Linked DNA regions of Homo sapiens: region 1 is linked to region 2. Evidence: promoter capture Hi-C in human tissues and cell types (Jung and others, 2019). All regions are on one chromosome and are shown on one strand. Each heading gives the region's core, a stretch centred on a gene start or on the middle of the fragment in contact. The rest is flanking DNA. Distances are from core to core; before and after follow the strand shown.

The links. The method cuts DNA at HindIII sites, captures the fragments that hold promoters and counts their contacts. A contact is called where the count stands out against the background at its distance.
Region 1: a contact is called between a fragment that was not itself captured here and the fragment with the promoter of WIPF3 in region 2, in 2 of the 25 tissues and cell types used here (adrenal gland and liver).

The regions. Positions count from the first base shown.
Region 1 is chr7:29,923,891-29,930,405 of GRCh38, reverse strand. It overlaps SCRN1 (secernin 1), which reads left to right. Exons shown (of 8, transcript NM_014766.5): 7 at 3,774-3,954; 8 at 6,291-6,515. The coding sequence ends at 6,449. Among named protein-coding and RNA genes, the nearest start is that of FKBP14-AS1, 62 kb to the left of the region's middle. RefSeq lists an enhancer at 568-1,067. The HindIII fragment of the contact is 5,344 bases long and covers 2,396-6,515 here.
Region 2 is chr7:29,803,773-29,810,383 of GRCh38, reverse strand. It overlaps WIPF3 (WAS/WASL interacting protein family member 3), which reads right to left and starts at 3,876. Exons shown (of 9, transcript NM_001080529.3): 1 at 3,706-3,876. RefSeq lists an enhancer at 3,231-4,140. The HindIII fragment of the contact is 12,406 bases long and covers 1-5,395 here.

The DNA.
Region 1 (6,515 bases), core at 3,818-6,317, 120 kb before region 2:
ATTCTAAATGTGATTTTCTGTAAAGATTGATAAGAAATCAAAATGTTTGGGAACCACTGAGTTACCCCCATTCCCCTTTTCTGGGTACATAGACACAAATGATGAAACCTGAATTATAGATAATTTCCACATCCTGGTTTAAACAAATATTAATATTGCAATTATTATCAGCAATAATTTTTGTTAATATTTTATGTAATTATTATTTTTTAGATAACCTTATTTATTAGTTATATAATTTATTCAATCTCAAAAAAGCTTTTAACCACCTCAATACATTTAGGCTTTATATTTTTTATTAGTTGAGTATACTAAGCTTTGAAAAAATATTTGGAGAGCTTTGGCTGCTTTAGAATATTTTGGGAACCTCCTCATATTTATTATGTATTCTTTTTAAACTAAAATGGATAGATGAGAGGGACAAACTTATGGTATCTCTTCTCTTAGAAAAGCACCAGACACCCTCATTGATTAACCTCTCCATTCCAGTGAGCTTAGGGTGGGTTTAAAGTTACATCACATAGAGCATTCTGAGTTTTTACTATGCATTTATCCTATATTGAATACAGAAGACCCTGACTGTGGTTAGCATGAGCTTACTGAAGCTGGCATCACAAGTTTACAAGCTTCATGACAGAAATAGAAATAAACGAGTTGTAGAAGCTAGAAGGGACTGTTGAGATCACTGTAGTCAGATGAGAGCCAGAGAGGGAAAACATGGACCCACAGTGGGTCAGACGCAAAGCGGGGACTCACACCCCCGTTCCAAGTCCCAGCCCAGTTCCCTGCCCTGCTCTGTGGGAGGTAGCTCCGCCCAGCGGTGCTGCCAGGCTGTCCCCTTCCCTCACTTCTTGGCATGGCTCTCCCAAGGGGTCCTGTGTCAGAAGAGTCCTGAGATGCGCAGTAAGGGAAGCACTGAGGTTTTAGGAGTGAAATGGCAGGTTTCCTGATGAAGATACTGCTCCCACTTGGGTTTGGAGTGGGCTTTGGAGTGGCATGGGGATTGAATGAAGTAGCATTGCATGGGGCCTGCTCAGTAGGCTCCGCAGGAGGGCGTGGTCGCAGTTCCCTTGCCTGCCAGGTGTTGAGCCTGCACCAGTTCCACCGTGAAGCCTACCAGCCCAGGTGGGAGTCTTGGCTTTGCCCAGTTCTGCCCAGCGCAGAGCCCTGGAGCTGAGAAGATGTGAACCGAGCTGACTCTGGGCTGCTGGGTGGGAGCCCCGGGCCTGTCTACCACTGAAGGGTTTCTGTGCCAGTGAAAGAGGCTGATGCTGCTGAGGTGACATGCGCTGACTTCCCAGGAAACCCCGAGTGCTGTCTGGCCCTCAAGGGTAGGACGCCTGTCTGTAGTGAGACAGTCCTGCTGTCAGAGCCCAGAGGTAGCCTGGAGACAGCTGGTTGTGGATGGCTAGGCGTGCTCTCTCCTGGCCCTCCTCCTCCCCACTGCTCCATTGCAGCGAGCCCTCCATCTGCAGCCCTTTTGCAGAATCAACTGACTCACCAGTTAAAGAATTCAATTTCATATAGTAAAAATTGGTTTAAACAGTTTTAGGTTTTGCAATAATTCCTTTTTCATATTCAACAGCCATTCATTCAACACTCAGTAGAGGGGTATAGCAATCATCTATTTTCAAGGGGCTGTAGGAAGTGGAAGTGTGTGTTCCTTCTGTGCAAGGGTAGCTCCCCTATGTCTTTAGGGGGTCTTCTTTTGATGATGGCTAGGGAGGGTAGGTTCTTGGCAGGGCTTGACTTTGAGCAGGTGGGCGCAGCCTGGCATGCCTTATGCTTCCCAGTGGATCGGAGATGGGCCCAGTCTCCAATTATATTTGCGTCATCTATAGAGAACAGCAGAGTACCTGACACTAGTCCTCAACTAGTACCACTCAGTTCACCAGCTTGGGGTACGAAGGTCTCACTGCTTTTAATACTCAAATTAAATTAGTCTGGGCCCCAATTTTGCATATTGTGATCAGTGTCTTTCTTTTCTCACTTGAGACTCCTGTCCCATGGCAACATCAGGAAGCTAACCTAAGAGAGTACTTCTCATTACTGTTGTGTCTTTAGTAGTGCTCTTCAGACTGGGATATGTTATGAATCCGCAGGGATCTTGTTAAAATTGCAGATTCTGATTCAGCAGGACAGGGTGGGGCCTGAGGTTCTGCAGCCGATACTGTTGCTGCAAGTCCGAGGACAAAATTGGCTGGCAAGGGTTATTGGCTCCCAGTCCTTTTCAGGTCATGGCATACCTGAAAATAGTTTTTCTTTGTCTGTTTGTTTGTTTTTGAGACAAAGTCTCGCTCAGTCACCCAGGCCGGAGTGCGATGGCATGATCTTGGCTCACTGCAACCTCTGCCTCCTGGGTTCCAGCGACTCTTCCACCTCAACCTCCTGAGTAGCTGGGATTACAGGAGCACTCCACCACATCCGGCTAATTTTTTTTTATTTTTAGTAGAAACGGGGTTTTACCATGTTGGCCAGGCTGGGCTCGAACTCCTGACCTCAAGTGATCCACCTGCCCCAGCCTCCCAAAATGCTGGGATTACAGGTGTGAGCCACCATACCTTGCCCATACCTGAAAATATTCATACCTGTGTGCCATACTGGCAAGGCTGCCCTGGCTTCCTCAAGCTCCAGATGCCCCAGGGCTGAGGGAATCAACATCCTAGCTCACCTCTAGCCCACTTGAGGTACCCGAGGTGGGCCACAGTGCACCTGTTGAGAGGAGAAAAAAATGTCCAAATCTGACAAATCTGACCTATACATATGGGGCACATATGGGGAGTTCCTTCTCTCCTGCTGTTATTGCAGGTGCTGCCCCATGGTACAGCTGAAAACAGGCAATCCTTGGGACGCAGAGGTGCCCATGCCTGCCAGGAGCAGCCCTCTGATCCAGCAGTGTTTCCTCTGGATGTGGGGAGGGTAGGATAAGGCTCTCTCCCCGGCGTTACAGTTGGCCATAGTGGTCCCTTAGCCCGTTGGCCTGGGATCCCAGGCCACAGCTGTTTATATGCGTGGCTCTTGTGTGTGTGTGTGTGTGTGGGTGGGTGGGTGGGGGGGTGATGTATCCTAGACTTGTACAAGTACACACACATGCAGGCATACGCACAGCCATTTTCCCGAAGATAACATCCATCCTGCCGAGAGAACTGAATTGAAGAGAGCTGGGGGGCATTAGCTACCTGCTGTGCCCTGTGCTAGCTCTCTCACACAACCAGACTTCTGTGTGGTGTGCACCCTCCAAGGCCTCTTCTGTCATCTTTCTTACTCTGTCCCCTCCTTGGGTCTGTCAGAGATATTCCATAGATTTTTCAGTAAGGTAGAACCTCAGAAAAAAACTAAAAACAAACCCAAACCAAAAGGCCCTTCCTTTCCCAAAGGCTGCTTCTCAGACCACGGTATTAAAAAAAAAAAAGGCAAACCTCTCTCGCTCAGCTAGATGGCTCCTTGCACCGTTTCTCAGAACACTGTTTGTTTGCCTCACTTTTTATTGCTAAAAGAGTCCTCTCAAATGGTTCAGAACAAAGGAAGTCTGTTTTGATGTCTCTTTGCTGTAAGTAGAGGAATTTGCAGCTTGTAAATGGCTGCAGTTTTGCTAAAATAGCGACTAAAACATGCAGTTATGTCTCTCTTGGCACTCACCCACCCACCCGTCACCCACACCCACCACCCACCATAAGTTGGCTTGGGAAATGTTTGCTGAATAAAAGGACAGTCTCTGGGTGTTCCCGGGTCCCAGCCTCTGCCTGGCTGAAGTGCCTCTCCTTCCTCTCCAGGTCCATATTCAAGCCTTTCATCTTTGTTGATGACGTAAAACTTGTCCCCAAAACACAGTCTCCCTGTTTTGGGGATGACGACCCTGCCAAAAAGGAGCCTCGGTTCCAGGAGAAACCAGACCGCCGGCATGAGCTGTACAAAGCCCACGAGTGGGCACGTGCCATCATCGAAAGTGACCAGGTGAGCTTGCATGAGGGCCACAGAGGCGGAGGCGGAGGCGGGCGGGCGAGGTCAGCGAGGAAGGAGGCAGGGAAGCAGATGTCAAGCTAGACCCTACCCCCACCCATCCAGTGTGACCGGGCTTCTCCCAGAGACCAGGTTCCTGGGGCCTTTCCTAGAAGGCTGGTGTCCATTTTCCTGCCCAGGCTCTTGAAACCAAATAAGACAAAGCTTCTGCTTCTCATGTTATTTTGGAATTCAGCAGGCTGAGTATCTTACTTACATTTACTGTTTACGTAGGAATAATAGGAATATGCAGTACGTTAGGGATAACTGTTATATATTGTGTAAAATTCCTTATGTACTTTTGGGGGTAAAAAGTTGTTATTTGCTGGCAACATTTTATTAAAGATACAATCATATGTTGTTTCAAAAAAGTTCTGGAGTTGGCTGGTGGTGCTGGTTGCACAACATTGTGAATGAGCTTAATGCACTGAACTATACATTTTAAAGTTTTTAAATGGTCAATCTTATGTTATAATACATATGTTTTACCATAGTACAAACATAGTTTTAGAAAATATTCTCATATTCCTAGGGTTTTTTTTTTTTTTTTTTGTATTTTTAGTAGAGACGGGGTTTCACCCTGTTGGCCAGGCTGGTCTTGAACTCCTGAGCTCAAGCAATCCACCTGCTTCTGCCTCCCAAAGTGCTGGGATTACAAGCAGGAGCCACCGCGCCCAGACTCATATTCCTAGTTTTAAAAAAGAAGTCGTAATCCTTCAAAGTGCAGCTCTCCCCAGTCCCACACCTTTGGTTAATAAAGTGATAAGTCATCAATTCAAACAAGAAAACCACCCAAAGCACGTTCCACAGCACCCAGTGTGTCCACAGCAGCCACCCCGATGGACTTTATATAAATTCAAGCCTATATTTTGCTGAAGAGAGGAAGAAGGAACGTGCTTGTTAGACACTCATCAGTTTTCCCCAACTATTTATGTAACAACTTTTAATAGGTCCAAACTGGCCTGAAGGGCCCAAAAGGGGGACCTTTTGTGTAAATTGGTGCTGTGGACTGTGTGAGCCTCTTGCATTTGACATGGTGGACTATAGAAAAAGGATATCAAGAGAAAAATCCAAGCAATAAATCCAGATGAATTCAGAAAGCATCTCTGAGAAGGGCTGTCTCACTTTTCTGAGAGCTTGCCCTTCTCTTCCATAGAAGTGACCATTTGACACGTAAAGGTCGCACAGTTATTTTACATCTCTCCTCCCTGCCAGCCTAAAAAGGCTGGCAGATAATCGGAAGCATGCATGCTGCCACTGCATTCAACTGTGTTTTCTCCAGGGCTGTCCACATTAGTTCCTGATAGTGCTTATGTTCTTGGTGGATGACCATAAGCCCCAAGTAGATGAAAACTGTCGCTGTGTGGTGTATGGTGTTTTGGGTATTTGGTTCATTAGAATGAAGAGGTAGAAAGGGCTGTGTGTTCAAGATGAGGCTGCTGAGGCTGGTGGGTTTTGAAATTTACAAATGACTCTCAGGTGGAGTCACATGATGCTGCATGAAGCAGTGGTGGGCGGGTGGTGAGAGCAGCTTCTCAGTTCTGGGACTCATGGGGCAAATGAAAGCTTTCACTGTCATCTGCCATAAATGAGTGAGTCCCATGGAAGAAGTGAACTCACCATCTCAGAAAAAGAGTGAACAGGGGAGAGACATGGCACCTGTTTATTCATTGATCCATTTTTTTTTTCATTCAATGAACATTTTTTGAGAGTGCCCTCCCAGTCACTGGAGGATAGAAATGAGCCCAGTTCCCATCCAAGGGGCCACAGCTGCAGAGGCAAGCCAGCACAAGGTGGGAGACAGCGCCCATGGCAGGGGGAACGGTGTGGCACTGTGCGGGGAAGAGGAAAGGCTTTGCAAGGAAGCTGAAGATGGGTGCACGTCGACCAAGCGCTGAGAAAGGGGATGGCCCTCCAGAGGGCAGGGCCACCTGTGCAGGGGCGAGACAGCAGCAGAGGCTGGAGGGCTACAGTGAATTCAGTCCAGCTGAGGAGTGGGGAGATGCAGGGGAAGTGGTCTTGGATGTCAGAAGGGCCTTCCCTCAGTGTCACTCTGGGGTCTGGGCTTTGTCCTGAAGGCAGCAGAAAGCTGTGCAGGTGTTCTAAGCCGGGCAGTGACATAATCATACTGGCATTCTAGAACAATCCCTGCGGCAGTCGTGTGTGAAACGGAGTGTGGGGAGGACAGGACCTTGAGCAGGAAGCCAGCTGGCCCCCTAGAGGGTTTCAGTGTCCGCTGCAATGTCCCCTGCTATTTTGCTGACACCTAAAGCAGTCGTGTCCTTCCTCAGGAGCAAGGTCGCAAGCTGAGGAGCACCATGCTGGAGCTGGAGAAGCAAGGCCTGGAAGCCATGGAAGAAATCCTGACCAGCTCCGAGCCACTGGACCCTGCGGAAGTGGGGGACCTTTTCTATGACTGTGTTGACACGGAGATTAAGTTCTTTAAGTGAAGTAAGCGTTCCCTTTCCCCTTCTTATTTAAGACTTCCCACCTTACTAAATTACCAGCAAAACAAA
Region 2 (6,611 bases), core at 2,627-5,126:
GGTGCTATGCTGGGAATGGAGATGAACACAGTTCCTGCCTTCCAGGAGCTCAGGTGCAATAAGAGAGAGTCAGGTAGGTTGGGGACACCTTGGGGTTATGAGTGGGTTGATAAAAGACCACAGCAGGGTGCAACATGATCATTCTGAGAGTAAGTCAGCCTTCGGCTTCTGTCTCCCCTTTGATAAAGGAGTATGAAGAATCAGCTCCCTATAGGGCTGCTGTAGTGATGTCCTACATATAAAGCTCTTAGCCTAGCCCCGGGCAGGGCTAGCTAGTCATTAGCTCTTAAGGAACAGTGGATGGCAACCTGGGCACCTTGCTCAGACACACATGTGCACTCACACAGACACACGTCCTCAGAAACTCAAGCACTGAGACTGGCTACTGCCTCCTCCTAGCTAACCAAGAGCTGACTCTCACAGTCCATGTGCAGGCCTGGCACTCTCTCCTGGATGCCACCATCCTAGATGCGGTGTTAGCTGGAAAACACCACCCACATAGGATGAACATTCCTTCAAGATGCACTTGAAAATCTTCCTCCACAGTGCCTGGCCCACATAATGCCCGCTGGGCATTTTTGTCACGTTTACTCTGCTTTAGTTTACCTCCTTGGCACTTGAACACCGCAGTTCACTACACAATTCCCCTGCTGCATAATGGTCGGGTTCCCTCTTGAACAGGTCTAAGGAAAGACGCAGCTAGAATTGCAAAAGGGGAGTTTCAAGTGCCCTACTGGCTGAAGCCAGTGAGAAAACACGTGTGCTGCCCCTGCCCAGCATCGGCTGGGGAAAGGCATGCCTCTTCGGTTTTGTACAGTGGCTAAATAAAAAGCAATTAATCACTTTCTCACCAACCCTAACTCATATTTAATAGTTCCCCTCGAAGTTTGTTTTGTCATGCTGTCGGCAAAGTCAGTCAAACATTACGATTCTTTTCTAAATATTCCAGCAGCCAGATGGCAGAAGCACCACTGTGACAAGGCAAACTTGCCTAAAGATAACTTTGTGATGCAGAACCATGCTCGATGGCACTGGGCTGAGGGGACTCACCCAGAGCTATTTCTAAATTGCTCCCCTTAACCCACGTTCTTTACACCAAAACTTCCTAAGACAAACATTCAACTCTGCAACTTGAAACTGGTGGTAAAACAAAGACGTTTCTACCTCTTTAAGTTCGGAATATTAGGCAGAAAAATAAAATCACTAGAAGACCACACATCAGGACAAAGTTCTCAGGATTTCTCCGTAGATTTAAGGCTACTGTACCCTAATGTTTCAAATATTTCTGCACCAAAGTTCATATATATTAAATATTTATAACACATTTGCTAGAAAACACATTTCCTTCCTTTTGCTGAGTTATTTGTGTAGGTTTCTTTTTTAAAAACTTCAACATTAATAAACATATTTATAAATTCTAGAATGTAAAAAAGTTGACTGCCATCCTGGTGAAAATTCTATGTTTCCCTCTACTGTTAATCACATTTTGTTTTCTCGGATCTTTCCTAGGTTATATTCTTTATTCTTTGTGTATGTGTTGGAGTGACTGCAAACTCGCAACCTGTACTATATGGTTTCTGAACAATAAGTCTCCTAAAAAGAGCGTTGCCAGGCTAGACCAGCTGGCTTTCCCCTGTTCTTATAACTGTATGTTCTTAGACACACACACACACACACACACACACACACACACTTCCTCCATTCCTTCTGCTGCTGGGTAACTGCAATCTGTGACACAATGTCACACTCACAATTACGTGAAAACAGAGACTCCTAAAGGAACAAAAAGGGGGCAATGGCAGGAAGCCAGCCTACAAGTGTCTGTCACCCTGACCGCTCTGCCCCGATTCAGGTGGCCACAAATTGCCTGTTGAAGGTTGCCTGTCTAGAATTTGAAGTCTGTGTGCCCAGGCTGTTACCCTGAGTAAGTAATTTAACCTCTGTGACCTTTTATTTTCTCATCTGTAAAAAAGGCACAATAACAATATCTCTGTTAAAGAATTGCTGCGAATCACAGGAGGTGATGCACATAAAGGCATCTGCAGTGTATGTTTCATTTCCAGTTACTTCTTAACTTTCTTTTGCCCCTCCTCGCCACTTCTTTTCTGATTTGGTTTTTGTGGTTTTTAAATGTATCTTTGAAATGCATTAGCTGGAAAACTGCAGCAATCTGTGTGTTACCACAATGAGTGGACTTTAGCATCACATTTTTATTTACTTTTTCACTGAGGTAGAATTTACGTTAAGTGCACAAGTCTCAAGGGTATAACTTCAGTAATTCTTAGGTCAAGGTGAGAAGCATTTCTAGCATCCCAGAAGCCTCCCTCATGTCCTGTCCAGGTATTGACCTGGAGTTTATCTCCTTGCAAGGCCCAAAAACAACCTCTCCTCTGACCTCTTTCGTAATGATAAAGTTAAAAAAAATTGAAGGGAGGCAGGAGTCCCAGTGATAACTATTAATGCTGGGCACAAGAAGTGCACTCCCAGTCCTCCCTGTGAAGTGAGAAAAGATTCTGGAAAGGAGGAGGCGGAGGGGCACAAACCTTCTAAATCACACTGGTCATGCCAAACAAGGCCCTCATTTACAGCCAAGGACCCCAGGCACAGAGGCGAAGAGACAGCCTAACTTCCTGCTACAGAGTAACTTTCCTCCCCAATACAGCCAGTTACAAAGCGCCCTGAGTGTCAGGGATTGGCCACACTGTCCCAGGGCGCATGGAACCGCTCTCCTGGCCTTTCCCTGCAGAAACTTCTTTCCAGAGGGAGGCGCACACACGGTCCCCACGCCGCCCCGGCGCCCGCCACGGGCACACCCACGCGGCTGGCACGCCACCCTCCAAAGGCGCTGTTCCTGAGAGCCGGTGCCTGCCTGCCCACGGGGCCCGGGCGGCGCTCCTCCAGGTCCAGGGCGGCCGGGTGCCCGCCCTCCCCGCCACCTTCAGAGAGTGCGTGTCAGGGGCTGGGGGAAATCTGCTCTGCCACCTACCTACCCACCACCTAATCCTCCAAAGGACCCTAAACCCATTTGTGGCCAAATGTACATTGCTGGAGCACAGTCTGACTACTGACCCCAGGGGCTTGGAGATGAGCACGGGAGGGGTGTCCAGAGACCTGCGCTCTGTCCCCATGAGCTGTGTGACCTTGGACAAGTCACTTCACATCTCTGGAGTTGGCTTCCTCACTAGGGGGCTCCTTCTGTATTCCCCAAGCCACCTCCGGCTCTGCAATTTCCTAGCTCTCTTTTACTCCGCCCCAGCCCTTCCCGCGACAGCCCCCTCCCCAGCGAGACCCCAGCCTTTTGTTCCGGGGGCGAAGCGGAGAAGAGAGAGCGTCGCGAAGGACCAGGCCGAGGCGGCCTCGGTGCCAGGGGCTGCTCACCGGGGAGTCCAGTCCGGAGAAGTCACCAAGCAACCCCGTGGTGACCTCGCTCCCCACCCCGCGGTTTGTTTCCGCCCGGCCCGGCCCGGCCCGGCCGGGGCGGCGTGGCAGGGTGCGGGTGGGGGGCGTGAGCGCCGCGCGGCACGTCGACAACCTCCTGGGCCCGGGGCTGCAGCCCGGCGGGGGTTCCCCGGCCCTCCCACGCCCTCAGGATCTCTGTCCCGGGCCGGGCCACTCTGCTCCGGGACCGACCAGGGCGGCGGCCGCCACACCGCCCGTTCCTTCCACCCTCGGGCACCGACCCGCACCCGCGCGGGAAGCCGCTACCTGCAGGTGGCGGAGCCGGGGGCTGGACTGGACTCGAGCTCCGGCCGACGTCTCCGCCGCCGCCGCCTCCGGCTCCGGGCTCCGTCCCGCAGCGCCCGTGCTCCAAGCGGCGCCGCTACCGCCGAGCTGCGCTCGGTGCGCCCGGCTCGCTCCCCGGCCACCGGCTCTGGTGCTGCCGGGACGCGGAGGCGGGGCCGCCGCCCCCACCTGCTCGCAGGCTCCTGCCTGGGAGCCGCCGCCGCCCCGCGGCAGGGACACGGCCCCGGCGGGCGGGGTCGCTCTGGGACCCTGGAGGCGGGTCCCAAGTCGGCGGGCGCGCCTCCCGGGTACAGAGTCCCAAGTCTCAGCTGCGGAGAGACTGAGGCCTAAGGCTGGAATTCCCCAAATAGGAGCTGTTGCGCGGGCGGCACACGGCCCAGCACAGCTACTCTGGGGACACGCCACTCCTTGAATTTATTCCAAAATGTTGAGCCCTTACTAAGCTCCAGGCGGTGTCATAAGCGATGGGGACGAGAGAACAAGATTACCTCTTGCCCTCGTGGAGTTCACAGTCTAGAAAAGGAAAGCGACCAATGGGCGATTACAGCACAACCAAGAGGAGGCAGAGGCCTCCTGAGCCGGCTCCCAGAGGGAGCACCTGATCTAAACTTGGGGTGGGGAGTAGGTCAGGGAGGGCTTCTTGAGGAGCTGACGTCGACGAGAAAAACTGAAGACTGAGTGTGAATTAGCCAGGTGATGAGAGAATTATCCGGGTAGCCTGGGGAGGTAGATTGATGTCCCAGGTAGAGTCGAAGGGAGGAGAAAGCAGACTGAAAACTGAAATAGGGCCGGGCGCGGTGGCTCAAGCCTGGAATCCAAGGACTTTGGGAGGCCGAGGTGGACGGATCACTTGAGGTCAGGAGTTACTAGCCTGGCCAACATGGTGAAGCCCTGTCTCTACCAAAAAATACAAAAGTTAGCCGGGTGTGGTGGCGCTCTCTAGTCCTAGCTACTCGGGAGGCTGAGGTGGAAGGATCTCTTGAACCCAGGAGGCAAAAGTTGCAATGAACCACTGCACTCCAGCCTGGGCGATAGAGTGAGACCCTGTCTCAAAAAACCAAACCAAACCAAACAAAGAAACAAACAAAAACAAACCTGAAATAAGCTTGAAGAACGGAAAACCTTGCTTCTGTCACATTTCTTGTTCAGGCCCTTGGAGGATGCAGAAAGTTTGTGTCCGAGGCTGAATGCATTGCTGTAGGTGCTGAGATCATTGGGTGAGGATTCTGTATTGCCCATGTCCTGGGCATTCCTGCTAGTGGAGGAGCTAAGCGGGTACTCGTGGACTGTTCACTCAGCCTCGGTGTTTGAGTATCTGCCATGAGCCAGACACTCTGCAGGGCCTCAGGGCAAGGTGTCTAACTCTAAAGTTGCTGCTGGTCTGGAATAGAGGAGAAACCTGGCGCTCAGCGCTGTGCTGAGGCTTGTGTGAAATGTTGGGGACCCAGGTGAGGGAGCAGCCAATGCCAGCAGGGAAGATCTCACACGTGGATTGCAGCCTGTATTCAGGTTCAAGTTCTGTAGTGGCTGCTGTCAAAGTATGTTCCCCAAGCAGCCCTTAGCTGATCTCTTAATTACTCATGTTTGTAGCTGGGCAATGTGTCGAAAGCAAGGATTAATAATACACTTTTGATGTCTTTCACTCCAGTGTCGTCAAGAACATGGTTTTCTCTTTTGATTTAGGTGACGAAAGGTCTATGTGTAGTGAGTGGAAGCTGATGAGGCACTTGCTTTCCACCTGTTTGTCCTGAGTTCCTCTTGCCCTTTCCTCCTTTAGAATCATAATAGATGACCACAGGTATGGAACCTGAAGAACAGTTCTCCAACATAAAATTCATAAGCCCTCTTACATGGGTGATTGTTACTAAAACAAAAACAAAACCCAAAACCCCAAAACATGACCCAGCCACTCTCCTTCTCTGGACCTCCAGTGCTAAAGCTCACTAAATACATAACCACTAGTATTCTAATTCAAAAAGGAAGAAAAGTCAAACTATTAGAGAAGACATTGCCATGGGCCTAGAGAGTTCCCATCAGATCTCCTGAGCAGCCCAAGCATGAGCCAGTTGGATGGAAAGCCTGTTATTTATCTCAAGAGATGCTGGATTGGATCAAAGAATTTGTTTTTTAAAATGCCTGGTTGTAGGGATGGGGAGGTGGTGAGTGAGGAATCAATTTGGACATTTGGGGCTGAAAGCTTCAAGAGGCATTCCATTCAGGTGATCAGTGTTTTCTATCCATGTGAAGTAACAATACCATTAGCATCTTGTTCCTACGGACATTAGGGAGGGATTCATTTCCACCTAGCTCCACTAAGACAAATTGACTTCAAGAAGGCACTAGCTCTTCCTAGTAGATGGTACTTGTTCAGTGGCAGACACTGTGAATTGTCTTCCCAATTATCAGTCTATTCTCCACTTCTTCCTTAGTGACAGAACCCAGGATTATGATTGATCCAAGACGACCATGACAATCCCCTTCCTGATTTCCCAGTCTTTCTTACAGCTAAGGAAGTCATTGACCCAGTTCTAGCCAATGAGTTGAAAGAAGGGTCTGGTGGGGGAGCCTCTGAAAAATTTTTTCTGGTTCTGTCTTTCCTTTTCCCTCTTTTCTTTTTTCTTTTTTTTTTTTTAGACAGAGTTTTGCTCTTGCTGCCCAGGCTGGAGTACAATGGCACCATCTTGGCCCGCTGCAACCTCCGCCTACGGGGTTCAAGAGATTCTCCTGCCTCAGCCTCCTGAGTAGCTGGGATTACAGGCGCTTGCCACCATGCCCAGGTAATTTTTGTATTTTTAGTAGAGGCGGGGTTTCACCATGTTGGCCAGGCTGGTCTCGAACTCCTGACCTCAGGTGATCTGCCCACCTTG